Linked DNA regions of Homo sapiens: region 2 is linked to region 1. Evidence: promoter capture Hi-C in 16 types of primary human blood cells and fetal thymus (Javierre and others, 2016). All regions are on one chromosome and are shown on one strand. The core of a region is centred on a gene start or on the middle of the fragment in contact, and the rest is flanking DNA. Distances in the headings are between cores, read along the strand shown. Region 1 holds the start of KBTBD12 (kelch repeat and BTB domain containing 12). Region 2 overlaps PODXL2 (podocalyxin like 2).

The links. Contacts are between HindIII fragments. The CHiCAGO score rates a contact against its expected background, and 5 or more counts as called.
Region 2: a contact is called between a fragment that was not itself captured here and the fragment with the promoter of KBTBD12 in region 1, in 1 of 17 cell types (endothelial precursors). The highest score is 6.1, in endothelial precursors.

The regions. Positions count from the first base shown.
Region 1 is chr3:127,912,215-127,918,403 of GRCh38, forward strand. KBTBD12 (kelch repeat and BTB domain containing 12) reads left to right here and starts at 3,018. Exons shown (of 6, transcript NM_207335.4): 1 at 3,018-3,372. LOC107986129 (a long non-coding RNA gene) reads right to left here. Exons shown (of 5, transcript XR_001740896.2): 3 at 5,991-6,027. It overlaps LOC124909427 (a long non-coding RNA gene), which reads left to right. Exons shown (of 2, transcript XR_007096071.1): 2 at 2,132-2,452. The HindIII fragment of the contact is 5,822 bases long and covers 2,112-6,189 here.
Region 2 is chr3:127,648,160-127,654,348 of GRCh38, forward strand. The region is part of intron 2 of PODXL2 (podocalyxin like 2); the gene reads left to right. Among named protein-coding and RNA genes, the nearest start is that of ABTB1, 22 kb to the right of the region's middle. The HindIII fragment of the contact is 2,470 bases long and covers 1,292-3,761 here.

The sequences.
Region 1 (6,189 bases), core at 1,768-4,267:
GAGAGAGACAGAGAGCGAGAGAGAGCGAGAGCAAGAGAGAGAGACCCAGTAGGAAGGAGCAGTAAATAGAAAAAGAATAGTAAGTTACTGCTGAGTAAAAAAGTACATATTCATATATGATATATTCCAGATGCATATTCCTTAAATCAAGTTATTGATAAATCAGTAGATTTGATAAATATTAATACTTCATTAATCATTTGGCACATGGATGTTTTGAGAATCAACTATAGTCACTCAGTGATATGGCCCAGCATCTAAATTAGCCTCCAGACCCCAAGCCCTGACTCTTCATAGCATATTCCACTTCTTCCTGAAACAAATGAAAAAGGTAAAATAAAGTAGCCCAATAGGAAATTGAACAGCGCCTTCAAAGCAAGCTGAGAAAGATTCATTAGGTTCACACAAACATCTCATAAACAAAACCAGAAGCAGGAAAGAAAATAGTCGCAGAAGGATCTAACTAGGACTAACTGGATCAAGGGATGTTTGTGGGGAAAGGATACAGGAATTTCCCCAAATAACTGTAAGTATGTATGTGTATGCTCGACAGGCTGAGGTGGGAGGATGGCTTCACCCCAGGAGTTTGAGACAATCCTGGGCAACATAGCGAGATCCTATCTCTCTCTAAAAAAAATTAAAATTTAGCCAGGCATGGTGGCACACACCTGTAATCCCAGCTATTTGGGAGACTGAAGTGGGAGGTTCACTTAAGCCCAGGAGTTCGAGGCTGAAGTGAGCTATGATTGCACCACTGCACTCAAGCCTAGATGACAAAGTGAGACCCTGTCTCTAAAAAAGGAAAAAAAAAAAAAAAGTAAGTGTAAATACGAATGCATGCAAGCATTCTTCATTGACATGAATACCTTCTAAAATGTTTAAAGGGACTTTACTTACCATATAAAATCTGTTTTGTTTTCAATGTGGTATATAAAGGCACACATATACACAGAAAAATATTATTCAGCCTTAAGAAAAGAAAGGACATTATACTCAGTTAAATAAGCCAGTTACAAAAGGAGAAATTCTGGCCAGGAGCGGTGGGTTACTCCTGTAATCCCAGCACTTTGGGAAGCTGAGGCGAGTGGATCACCTGAGGTCAGGAGTTTCAGACCAGCCTGAGCAACATGGTGAAACCTCGTCTCTGCTAAAAATACAAAAATTAGCTGGGCGTGGTGGAGCACGACTGTAATCCCAGCTACTTGGGAGGCTGAGGTAGGTGAATCACTTGAACGGGGGAGGCAGAGGTTGTAGTGAGCTGAGATCGCACCACTGAACACCAGCCTGGGCGACAGAGCAAGACTCCGTCCCCATCCCCCTCCCCCAAAAAAGGACTAATTCTGTATGATTTTGCTCATATAAGGCACCTAGAATAGGCAAATTCGTAGAGGCAAAAAGTAGAATAGTGGTTACCAGGTGCTAAAGGGGAGGGAGAAATAAGTTATTGTTTAAGGAGTACCAAGTTTCTTTTGAGAGGATGAAAAAATTCTGGAAATGGATACTGGATATGGTTGTACAACATTATTAACATAATGCCACTGACTATGCTTAAAAATGATTAAAATGATAAATGTTATGTTATGTATATTTTACCACAATAAAAAAAAAGGAAGAGGTGGGCAGAAGAGTTAGTGTCAAAGTGATGCTGAGAGGTGAAGCCAGCTGCACTTCTGGGTTGGGTGGGGACTTGGAGAACTTTTCTGTCTTACAAGAGGATTGTAAAATGCACCAATCAGCACTCTGCAGCTAGGATTGTAAAACGCACCAATCAGCGCTCTGTGGCTAGCTAGAGGTTTCTAAAATGGGCCAATCAGCACTCTGTAAAAACACACCAATCAGCTCTCTGTGGCTAGCTAGAGGTTTGTAAAATGGACCAATCAGCACTCTGTAAAATGGACCAATCAGCACACTGTAAAATGGACCAATCAGCACTTGGTAAAATGGACCAATCAGCAGGACATGGGCAGGGACAAATAAGGGAATAAAAGCTGGCCACCCAGTCAACACAGGGAACCCAGTCAGGTCCATTTCTAGGTTGTGGAAGCATTGTTCTTTTGCTCTTCACAATAAATTTTGCTGCTCCTCACTGTTTGGGTCCATGTGACCTTTAAAGCTTTCTTTAACATTTAAGGTCCGTGGCTTCATTCTTGAAGTTAGCGAGATGGAGACCACAAGCCCACTGAAAGGAACCAACTGCAGACACAATGCATGTGAGAAAGACTCAGCCCTATTTTCTGGCTTTGAAGCTGGAGGAAGGAGCCAGGAGCAAAAGAATGAAGACAGTTTCCAGAAGCTGCAAAAGGGCAGGGACAGATTCACTCCAGGAAGCCCCAGAAACAAACACAGTCCTGCTGACACCTTGATTTCAATCCAGTGAGACATATTTTGGACTTCTGACCTACAGAGCTAAAATAATAGTAAGATAATAAAGTTATGTTGCCACCACTGAAAACAGTTTTATTTTGCTTTGGTTTAAGCTAACTGAGCTAATACAGCTGCCGTATTTTATGACACTTGCCTAAGGAAGACTTCCCATCCCTGCACTGCTCCCGGCTAACCAGTCCTTTCTCGGGACTCCTGGAAACCTCCCACTCTCAGAGAGGTGTAGGGTATAAAAATCACAAGCTGATGGCTCAGGATGTAGCAAATAAAAATACAAGACCAAAACGAAACCCAACCGGAACACCGAGTTAAACGTGAATTGACCATGCGATATTTGGGACATACTTAACACTAAAAATTACTGGTTGTGTATCTGAAATTTACCTTTAACTGGGCTCATGTATTTTACCGGGCAACCCTACCCCCCGGTCACAGTGAGACTACACACGGGGTCTTTTGGTCATTTTGCAAGTGTAAAAGACTAACGGGAACACCGGCATTTTTCAAAGCTCGATTTCCAAACCTCCTTTAAACACTTGTCCCCATCCCCTCCCCGCAGGCCTTCAGTCGCTCTGGCACGCGGGCCAGCGCGGGAACACTCTGCGCAGGCGCACAGCGTTCCGCGGGGGACGCTCAGTAGGGTACGGGACGCGCGCGGGGAGACCCTGTGCAGCGACACCGGGGCTGTAGTCGCCGTCTGGAACCAGCGCGGGAATAGGTGCGCAGGCGCACAGTGGCTGGAGGGCAGCGGCGGCGTGGTCTCGGGCCACTTCCAAGCAGAGGGCAGCACCTGTCCCCTCGGAGGCGCTGCCAGCGCCCTCCCTCCTCCTCCGCAGGGCGCGGGACCTCTATTTATATCGCCCAGCCAGCACAGGCCCATATTGGGCAGTGGCCTCAGTCAGGCCCGCTGGCCGCCCTGCCACACGGTAGCGTCCAAGCCAGGTCGTGGCCCAGCGAGTGGGGACGCGCCCCGAACCAGGCAGCACCTTCGTAAGTAGGGGTAGCGCCCCGGGGGAACGCGGCCCCCAGTCACAAGCCCTGCCTCAACTCCGGGCCAGGTTGAACCTGGGCGCCGACCCGGGGCCACCGGCACTTGCAGCCTCGGCTCTAAGTGACTTCCTTCGAGTCGCAGTGGGCCGGCGCCTGGCGTCAGGTGGGGCTCCCAGGAGCTGCTCCTCCAGGCCATCTCTGCCGTCTCCGACCTTCACCGTCGGGTTGTTCAGGCTCGTAGTCTGCATAGTATTATCATCCTCCGAATTACCTGACCAATGTATTATTGTGCCTTCCGTCGCTAGACTGTAAGCACAACAAAGGTAAGGGGCACTTCCCTGTTCCTGGTTGTCTTCCCGGAACCTAGGATAGTGCCTGGCACTTAGAAGGGTTCGTTTAAGTTTAATAAACCCTGAATGTATCCCTGAGCAACTCTCTTAACTTTAAAGCCAGGAGAATAATTGCCCTACATTTTCCCCCAAATGATTCTTAAGAGGAACTAATGAGCTATAATGCGGATTAAAGCACTTTGAAAAGTATAAAGCACTGTGAGAATGCAAAACAGTGTGAACTCGGCAAAGAAAAGAAAAGAAAACTGGTCTTATTTGTCTTTATCATCCATGTGCCTGGCTGTTACTGGATGCCCGGTGTGTGGGATGGATTATTATGAAATGAATCAGGTCTTTTTCCATGCTAGTGAGAAGCACAGAGTACATTTAGGGTGGTGCGTGTGTTCTCAGCCATTTCCTACCAGCCTCTGCAAGCGTAGGATTTTAGCAAGATGGTGTTGCTGAAACAAAATAGGGTGTGGAGACGTAATCGTATAAACTGGGGGTCACAAACTTAAATGGCTGTAGGATAATGTAAATGGACAGGAAAGAGAAAAGCAACAGCGTAAGAATTACAAATAATGACTGTCCCTCAGGTCTCAAAGAGGATAATGGGGCCCAGCAGATGTGCCAGCTGAGAGGTGGCAGCTGGGTACTCAGGTCCTGCACATTGTTGCCGCTTGGGAATTAAGGACTCAGTGTTGCCATACCTTTCATTTTTTTCAGTAGATGCTGGAATATTTCAGCTTAGCATGTTGACAGCTAATTTACCAAAAACAAAACAAAAAGCAAAAAAAAAAAAAAAAACTGAGCAGCCAATTTGTAATCTCAGGCGTAAGTGAAGCCAATACATGGCTTCAGTAGTTCCTTAAGAATGGGGCCAAATCCCAGACAGCAAATGACTGGGAATTAATTTTGAGGGTGCAAGTGAAAACTGGGTGTCATAGTGCATCACGCTATAAGCAAGGGAGTCACTTCACGATTCTGAATGATTTGACTGGAACAAGAGGATAGCAACTTGAAGCATTAAGCGTTGGCGAGTGGGAAAAAACACAGAACTGTTTGTCTGCTGCTCTCACACAATGAACACAGAAAATGTCTGTAACCTCTGCTAACCAAGAGGTATGTGGAGACTTCTCCCCATCAGCAACCAATCACTTAGTTCTGCAGCAGACAGCAGCTTGGGTGTCCTCTAACTCAGTGCAATTCTGACACCATCTACCTGGAGACAGCGTCAGATCCCACAGGCTGAGAGCTCAGTCCCACAGGGCTACCACTATCTTCAGACACTAGTCCCAGCATCCAGAGCTTCTGACTGACCCATCTCAAGTTGGGGTTCCCTCTTTGGGTTTAATTTGCTAGGGCAGCTCACAGAATTCAGAAGAACGCTTAAGTTTTCCGGTTTACTATAAAGGATATTAACAAGGATACAGGTGAAGCGATATATAGGATGAGATATGGGGGAAGGGGTACAGCCAGGTGCACCACACTTCGGGAACCCTCCACATGTTCAGCTATCCTGGAAGCTCTCCAAACCTTGTCCTTTTGGGGTTTTTAGGAAGGCTTCATTACATAGGCATGCTTGATTGGTGATCAACTTAACTTTCTGCTCCTCTCCCTGGAGGTCAGGGGATGGAGCTGAAAGTCCCAATGCTCTAATCCTGCCTTATTCTTTCCGGGGACCAGCTCCTATCCTGAAGCTCTAGAGGCTGCCAGCCCTCAGTCAACTCATTAGTGTACAGAAAGGTATTTATCACTTTGGAGATTCCAAGGATTTTAGGAGTTGTATGTCAGGAAAAGGGCAAACACCAAATAAATATTTTATAGTATCACAATAAATTTTATATGTAGAAAAAATCTTGAATATAATCTTTTATTATCATGTACAAAACCTAGAGAAAAGTTATCATTAACTTGTAATTTAGGACTAAACAAAGCATTAATTTAATTGAACAAACCGTATTGAGCAACTCCTGTGTGCTAAGTGTCATCACAGACAAGAATACAGAAATGGCCAGGTATGGTGGCTCAAGCATATAATCCTAGCACTTTGGGAGGCCAGGTCAGGAGGATTGCTTGAGGCCAGGAGTTTGAGACGCACCTGGGCAACACAGTAAGACCCTGTCTCTACAAAAAATAAATAAATAAATTAGGCATAGTGGTGCATGTAGTGGTGCAGCTACAGGGGAGGCTGAGGTCCCAGCCTGGGCAACAGGGCAAGACCCTGTCTCTAAAATAAATAAGTAAACATTTTCAAGAATACAGAAGTGACGAAGACAAGTCCCTTACCCGCAGTGTGCTCATCATTGACAGGAGAGGCAAGCATCTGCAAAAGTGAATGGCAATAGCAGTGCAGCAACCACAGTGTACACAACACAGGCAAGAAAGCAAAGGGATGCGTCAGTGAGGAAGTGATATCTGAGCTGAATTTTGAAGACCAGGTTATATTTTTTCAGGTAGATGGGGGAGATATTTCTGACACAGATTT
Region 2 (6,189 bases), core at 1,277-3,776, 260 kb before region 1:
CTAAATCTCAAATCTGAGAGTTCTACTTCAAGATCTGCTGCTCCCCTCAATACAAAGTCCTTCATTAGGCTACTTTAATTATCATTGCCGTAATCAATTTTGGAGAAAGCAGACCGACCGAGCAGCTGTCTGCTGGGACCTGGAGCTGGTTCCTGTACAGCGAAGCCTTGTTGTGATTGTGTCTGCTGTAGAATGATTTGACCTTCTGGGTCATTGCCCACACATCAGGTGTATCCATGTCCTTAGGATGGGCCGATAGCTGTGGAGCCTGTGGACAGAGCAACAAAGAGAGCACTTTTACTTAGACACCAAAACAAAAGCCTTGTCATTCTTGTTCTGTGCTAGTAATAAATATCAACATATAAAAATTTAAAACAGCAATTAAAAGAAGAAAATAAAAATCACCTATAATCCAGTGATTCAGTCAGTGAATGTTAACGTTTTGGACTATCTCTTTCTGGACTTTTTTTTTTTTTTGAGACAGTCTCACTCTTTGCCCAGGCTGGAGTGCAGTGGTGTGATCTTGGCTCACTGCAACCTCTGCTGCATGGGTTCAAGTGATTCTTAGTCTCCTGAGTAGCTGAGATTACAGGTGTGTGCCCCTATGCCCAGCTAATTTTTGTATTTCTTTTTTTTTTTTTTTTTTTTTTTGAGACGGAGTCTTGCTCTGTCGACCAGGCTGGAGTGCACTGGTGCGATCTCAGCTCACTGCAATCTCTGTCTCCCGGATTCAAGCAATTCTCCTGCCTCAGCCTCCTGAGAACTGGGGCTGCAGGCAGGTGCCACCACCCCCAGCTAATTTTTGTATTTTCAGTAGAGACGGGGTTTTGTCATGTTGGCCAGGCTGGTCTTGAACTCCAAACCTCAGGAGATCCACCTGCCTTGGTCTCCCAAAGTGCTGGGATTACAGGCATGAGCCATTGCACCCAGCTCTTTCCAGACTTTTTTTTTTTCCTTTATAGGACATATATAAAAATATGCTTTTACAAAAAATGGACAATAGTGGACACTGTGGTATACACATCTTGCTGTTTCACTTAGAAACCTCTTTCCAAGCCAGCACACACAGCTCTGCAGCCTGTTCAAGGCTGCCATGGTCTCCCAGTATAAGGCGGGTCTATCATTTCTTTGGGCAGTCCCCTGCCATGTGGGTGCTGGACCCCAGTCTTCTGCTACATGGACTGTGCCATGATGGGGATCTATAAAGCCACATGACTGTGAGCGTCCCTAATCGTCTCCTTAGGGTACCTTTCCAGAAGTGAGATTGTAGGTTCAGAATATTTGTCTTTAAAGCTTCTCGTTCCTGTGACTCAGTAGCTCTCCAGAAATGTGGCCTGCTTTCCTTCCCATCCCTCACCCTTCCAATACTAGGCATGAATGACTTTGAATGTATACATATACTTGTCAGGTTGGTAGTCCAAAGATTTTGGCATTTTGCAGTTTACTTTATATTCCTTTGATGACTATTGAGGTTGACTATCAAAAAGTAGTTTTAAGCCAGGCATGGTGGCTTACGCCTGTAATTCCAGCACTTTGGGAAGCCGAGGCGGGTGGATCACCTGAGGTGAGGAGTTCGAGACCAGCCTGGCCAACATGGTGAAACCCCGTCTCTACTAAAAATACAAAAATTGGCTGGGTGTGGTGGTGGGTGCCTGTAATCCCAGCTACTCAGGAGGCTGAAGCAGGAGAATTGCTTGAACGCAGGAGACAGAGGCTGCAGTGAGCCCAGATCACACTGCTGCACTCCAGCCTGGACACCAGAACAAGACTTTGTCTTAAATAAAAAAGTAGTTTTAAGTTATACTAAAACGTCTTCCCTTGCACCTCTGTTTTAGACATATTTATTTTTAATTTTGAGTGTTTTTATATTAACACTCAGTTGGATAACTGACTTGAGAGTTGTAGTGAGGGGACAATTTTCAGTGACTTGACATTAACCTAAAGGGACATTTAAAGTGATCTTTCAAGGGCTCTGGCCCTTATGCCTGTTTTAATTCTGTCTCTTGAATAGAAGAATCAGTTCATTGATATTTCAGCCTGTGCTGAAGTTCATCCCTGGGATTATGGCTGCCCTGAGAGATAGAAGTAAAGTCCAGAGTGACTTCGATAAACTGGGGAAAGAAACCTATACAGAACTGTGATGAAATATAGGAGGGAAAAATGATCTATTTAGGGAACAAAGCCAGCACCATAATGAGTTTAAAAGAAAGCGGAGAAATAAGGCCTAGGGGACCCAGGCCTGGGGCTTCATCAGGGTGAGCTGGAGCTGCATCTGAGCCAGCACCAACCCATCACAGGGGGCGCGGGAGAGCTCAGCTTACCAGCTGTGATAAATGACAGTAGTGCCACTGGAGTGGAGAAACCCCTTTACATTTTGCATCAATTAGTCTCAAGTTAGTGAATCTTGTTCAGTTTTCAATAGTTCATTCAGCAAATATTTACTGTGTACCCCCTGTGCTGATTTTGTAACACTCTTTTTTGTTTTTTGTTTGTTTTTTTTGTTGTTGTCGTTGTTGTGACGGAGTCTTGCTCTGTCGCCCAGGCTGGAGTGCAGTGGTGCGATCTCGGCTCACTGCAAGCCCCGCCTCCTGGGTTCACACCATTCTCCTGCCTCAGCCTCCTGAGTAGCTGGGACTACAGGCACCCACCACCACACCCAGCTAATTTTTTTTTGTATTTTTAGTAGAGACGGGGTTTCACCGTTTTAGCCAGGATGGTCTCCATCTCCTGACCTCGTGATCCACCCACCTCAGCCTCCCAAAGTGCTGGGATTACAGGCGTGAGCCACCGCGCCCAGCTGTAATACTCCTAAAACTGTGGTGAGGCTGGGTGCGATGGCTCACACCCGTAATCCCAACGCTTCGGGAGGCCGAGACGGGTGGATCACCTGAGGTCAGGAGTTCAAGACCAGCCTGACCAACATGGTGAAACCCCATCTCTACTAAAATACGAAAATTAGCCAGATGTGGTTGCGGGCACTTTAATCCCAGCTACTCGGGAGGCTGAGGCAGGAGAATCGCCTGAACCCAGGAGGCGGAGGTTGCAGTGAGTTGAGATCGTGCCATTGCACTCCAGCCTGGGCGACAGACTAAGACTCCATCTCAAAACAAACAAACAAAAAACACCAGGGTGAATCCAGAGTTTTCACAAGAGAAGGATGAAAACAGAAAGGTTGAGAATAAAGAATAATTACAGTTGTTTAGCCCCAGGAAAAGAAGCTAGGTTTAGGGGCAACTAAGAGACTATGTACATTGTTTCCTCTGAAGGCGGTGCTAGCAGGTGCTGCTCACTTACCAGATGAAACAGAGATGGACTTGAGTTGTAAAGGAACCATCACAGCTGGGTTTAGGCAAATGGGGGTGTAGGGGTAAGTCAATAACACAGAAATGCCTCTCTAAAGAGACCCAGCCATATTCTTGAAGATAATTGCCAGCCCATCTTCTCTAGACTCACCAGTGCCTGCCAGAGGGCTGAGGCCTCGTCAGGTAGCCTCCTGTGGTCCCTTCCCGTGTTAGGACCCTGACCCTAACCACGGATACACCTGCCGTGAGCTGGGCTGTGTGGATGCTGAGAGGAGCAGAGAACATGGAGTGTGACAGAAGGAAAGTGTGCCTTCTGTGGGCTGGGTGTTTTGCATTCCTGATGCCACTTCATCTTTGTAACAACCTGAGGTATTAGCCTCACATCATGGAGAGGTGGGTGTGTGGCACACAGAGGCAAGTGGCCACCCAGAATTCCAGCCCATGCCTCCAGAACCCTGAAGCTTGGCCTGGGGCTCTTAACGCCAGCCACTCTTGTGATTCAAGCCCAGCTTTAAGGAGGTTGGCTGCGGCCACAAAGGTACGGGCAGACTGGGGAGAGGTCATGATTCTGCTTGTCAGCTTGCTCCTGTCCAGCATCCCAAGCCAAGCCCGGGTGCTGGACTAAATGACCAGGATGTGTCAAAAGACACTGGCTTTAACCACACAAGAGTCTAAGAGTCTTACAACTTTACAACTGTGACAAGTCTAGCATCACAACTTAGAGCAAGAATCCTCCTCTCCTGGGCTCCCTCATGTGGAAAAGGCGAGAGATGGGCCCTTTGCTCTTGCAGGGCCTCTGTCTACCTGTAAAATCCCTGAGTCTGGGATTTGGAGACCCAACTGTTCTGAGGGCTCTGGGGAACATGTGGTTTCTGTTTAGAGCCACCAGGGGGGGCTGTGACTTCACAGTGCCATTCCCAGCAGTTCTGGGAGGGTCGGGAGCCCAGGAGCCTAAGTGTTATCCTGCAATCAATCCAGGAGGTCCTCCAGGGCTCTCCTGTGCAACGAGGGGGTCTGCCCCAGGTGTCTTCTGAGCTGCAGCTTAGACATTCGTGGCCTCCCATGCTCCGAGGCCCAGCCCGAGCCTCTCCCTGGAGGGCTTGAGCCTTGGATGACCTTTCTCATCCTTCAGTGCCCCAGCTCTTCCTGAGGACAGGGATGAATCCATGGAGCCAGCCCTTAGACTTCCACGTGTCTCCAGTGTGTCTCCCGGGCGGCTCGGCTTCCTCACACCTGTGTCCAGGTGTGGGGCTCTAGAGGTACACCTTGGTCCCAGACACGCTTTTGGGGTTTGGCTACAAACTAAAAGGGCTTCGTGGAGGGACCCTTCTCCTGAGCCTGAAGTGGATGGGGTAGGAAGGGATTCCCTGGAGCGCTCAGCTGGTCAGACCCTCCCTCTGGAATCAGAGCTGTCCACGGCAGCAGGGCTGAGGGTGTGGGCATCAAGGACTTGCCCTGGGTCACTGAGGGCAGGCTGGGAGGGCAGGTAGCCCTGTCATGTGTCCCCTCTCTCCTCCCTCTCCTCTTGCCTCTCCCCTCTCTTTACTCTCCTCATCTTCATCTCCCTCCTTTTCCTGCTCAGCTTCACTTCTTTGTTTCTCTTCTTCCATTCCCAATTTGATCCTTTTTCACCTCCAAAGTGCCTGCTGAGGCTTCCTCTCCCCTCTCAATGCAGCGAGTCCCTAGAAGCCTGATCTGTATTCCTTGGACACCTGAGTGGGAAAAGCACCTTCCTCCCTGTCTCTCAAAACTGTCTCACCTGCTTCAGGGCGGTGTGGCTCCTTCCTGCCACAGGGCTCTGCGCTCTCAGCCAGGATAGCCTGCCCTGTCCCTTGCCATGTTTCTATTCCCCTCTTGACAGCTCAAGCATGTTCGCTGACCTGTAGTGAAAGTCAGTGTCTCAGGCCGGGTGCAGGGGCTCTCTCCTGTAAGCCCAGTACTTTGGGAGGCCAAGGCAGGCAGATCACGAGGTCAAGAGATCAAGACCAGCCTGGCCAACAAGGTGAAACCCCGTCTCTACTAAAAATACAAAAAATTAGCTGGGCGTGGTGGCGTGTGCCTATAGTCCCAGCTACTCAGGAGGCTGAGGCAGGAGAATTGCTTGAACCCAGGAGGCGGAGGTTTCAGTCAGCCAAGATCGTGCCAATGCACTCCAGCCTCGGTGACAGAGTGAGACTCCATCTCAAAAAAGAAAAAAAAAAAAAGAGAGAAAGTGTCTCTCACATGTGCACGCTCTCTCTGTTACTCCTTATTTTAAAAAATTTTCAATTTACAGAAAAGTTGCAAGAATAATTCCGTCCACCCCTTGCTCGGACTCCCCCATTATTAACACTTTGCCGCAGTTGCTGTATCAGTGTGTATGTGTACATGTATGGATATGGAGATGCAGATCTGTACTTCTTGCTAAACCATTTAATGGTAAGTTGCAGACATGATGCTCCTTTGCTCCAAATACTTCAGTGTGCATTTCTTAGGAACAAAGCATTCTCCTAAAAACCACAGCAGGATGATCAAAATCAGGAAATTAACACTGATACAATATGCTTCTGTAATTACAAACTTTATTCAAACTTTGCCAGTTTTCCCAGTAGTGTCTTTTATAGCAAAAGAAAAAAAGAGCAGGGTTTCATAGTCCACTATCCGGTCCAGAATCACGTACTGCATTTAGTCCGCATGTCTCTTTTGTCTCTTTTTTATTCTGGAAAACCCTCTAATCTTTCTTTGTCTTTCATGACCTTGACATTGTTGGAGTGCAGGCCAGTTATTTTGTAGATTGCCCCTCAATTTCAGTTTGTCTCAAATTTCCCCATGGTCAGATTCAGGCTCTGCATTTTTGGCAGGCATATTGTGGACGTGATGCTGTATCTTCTTAGTGAATCGTACCGTG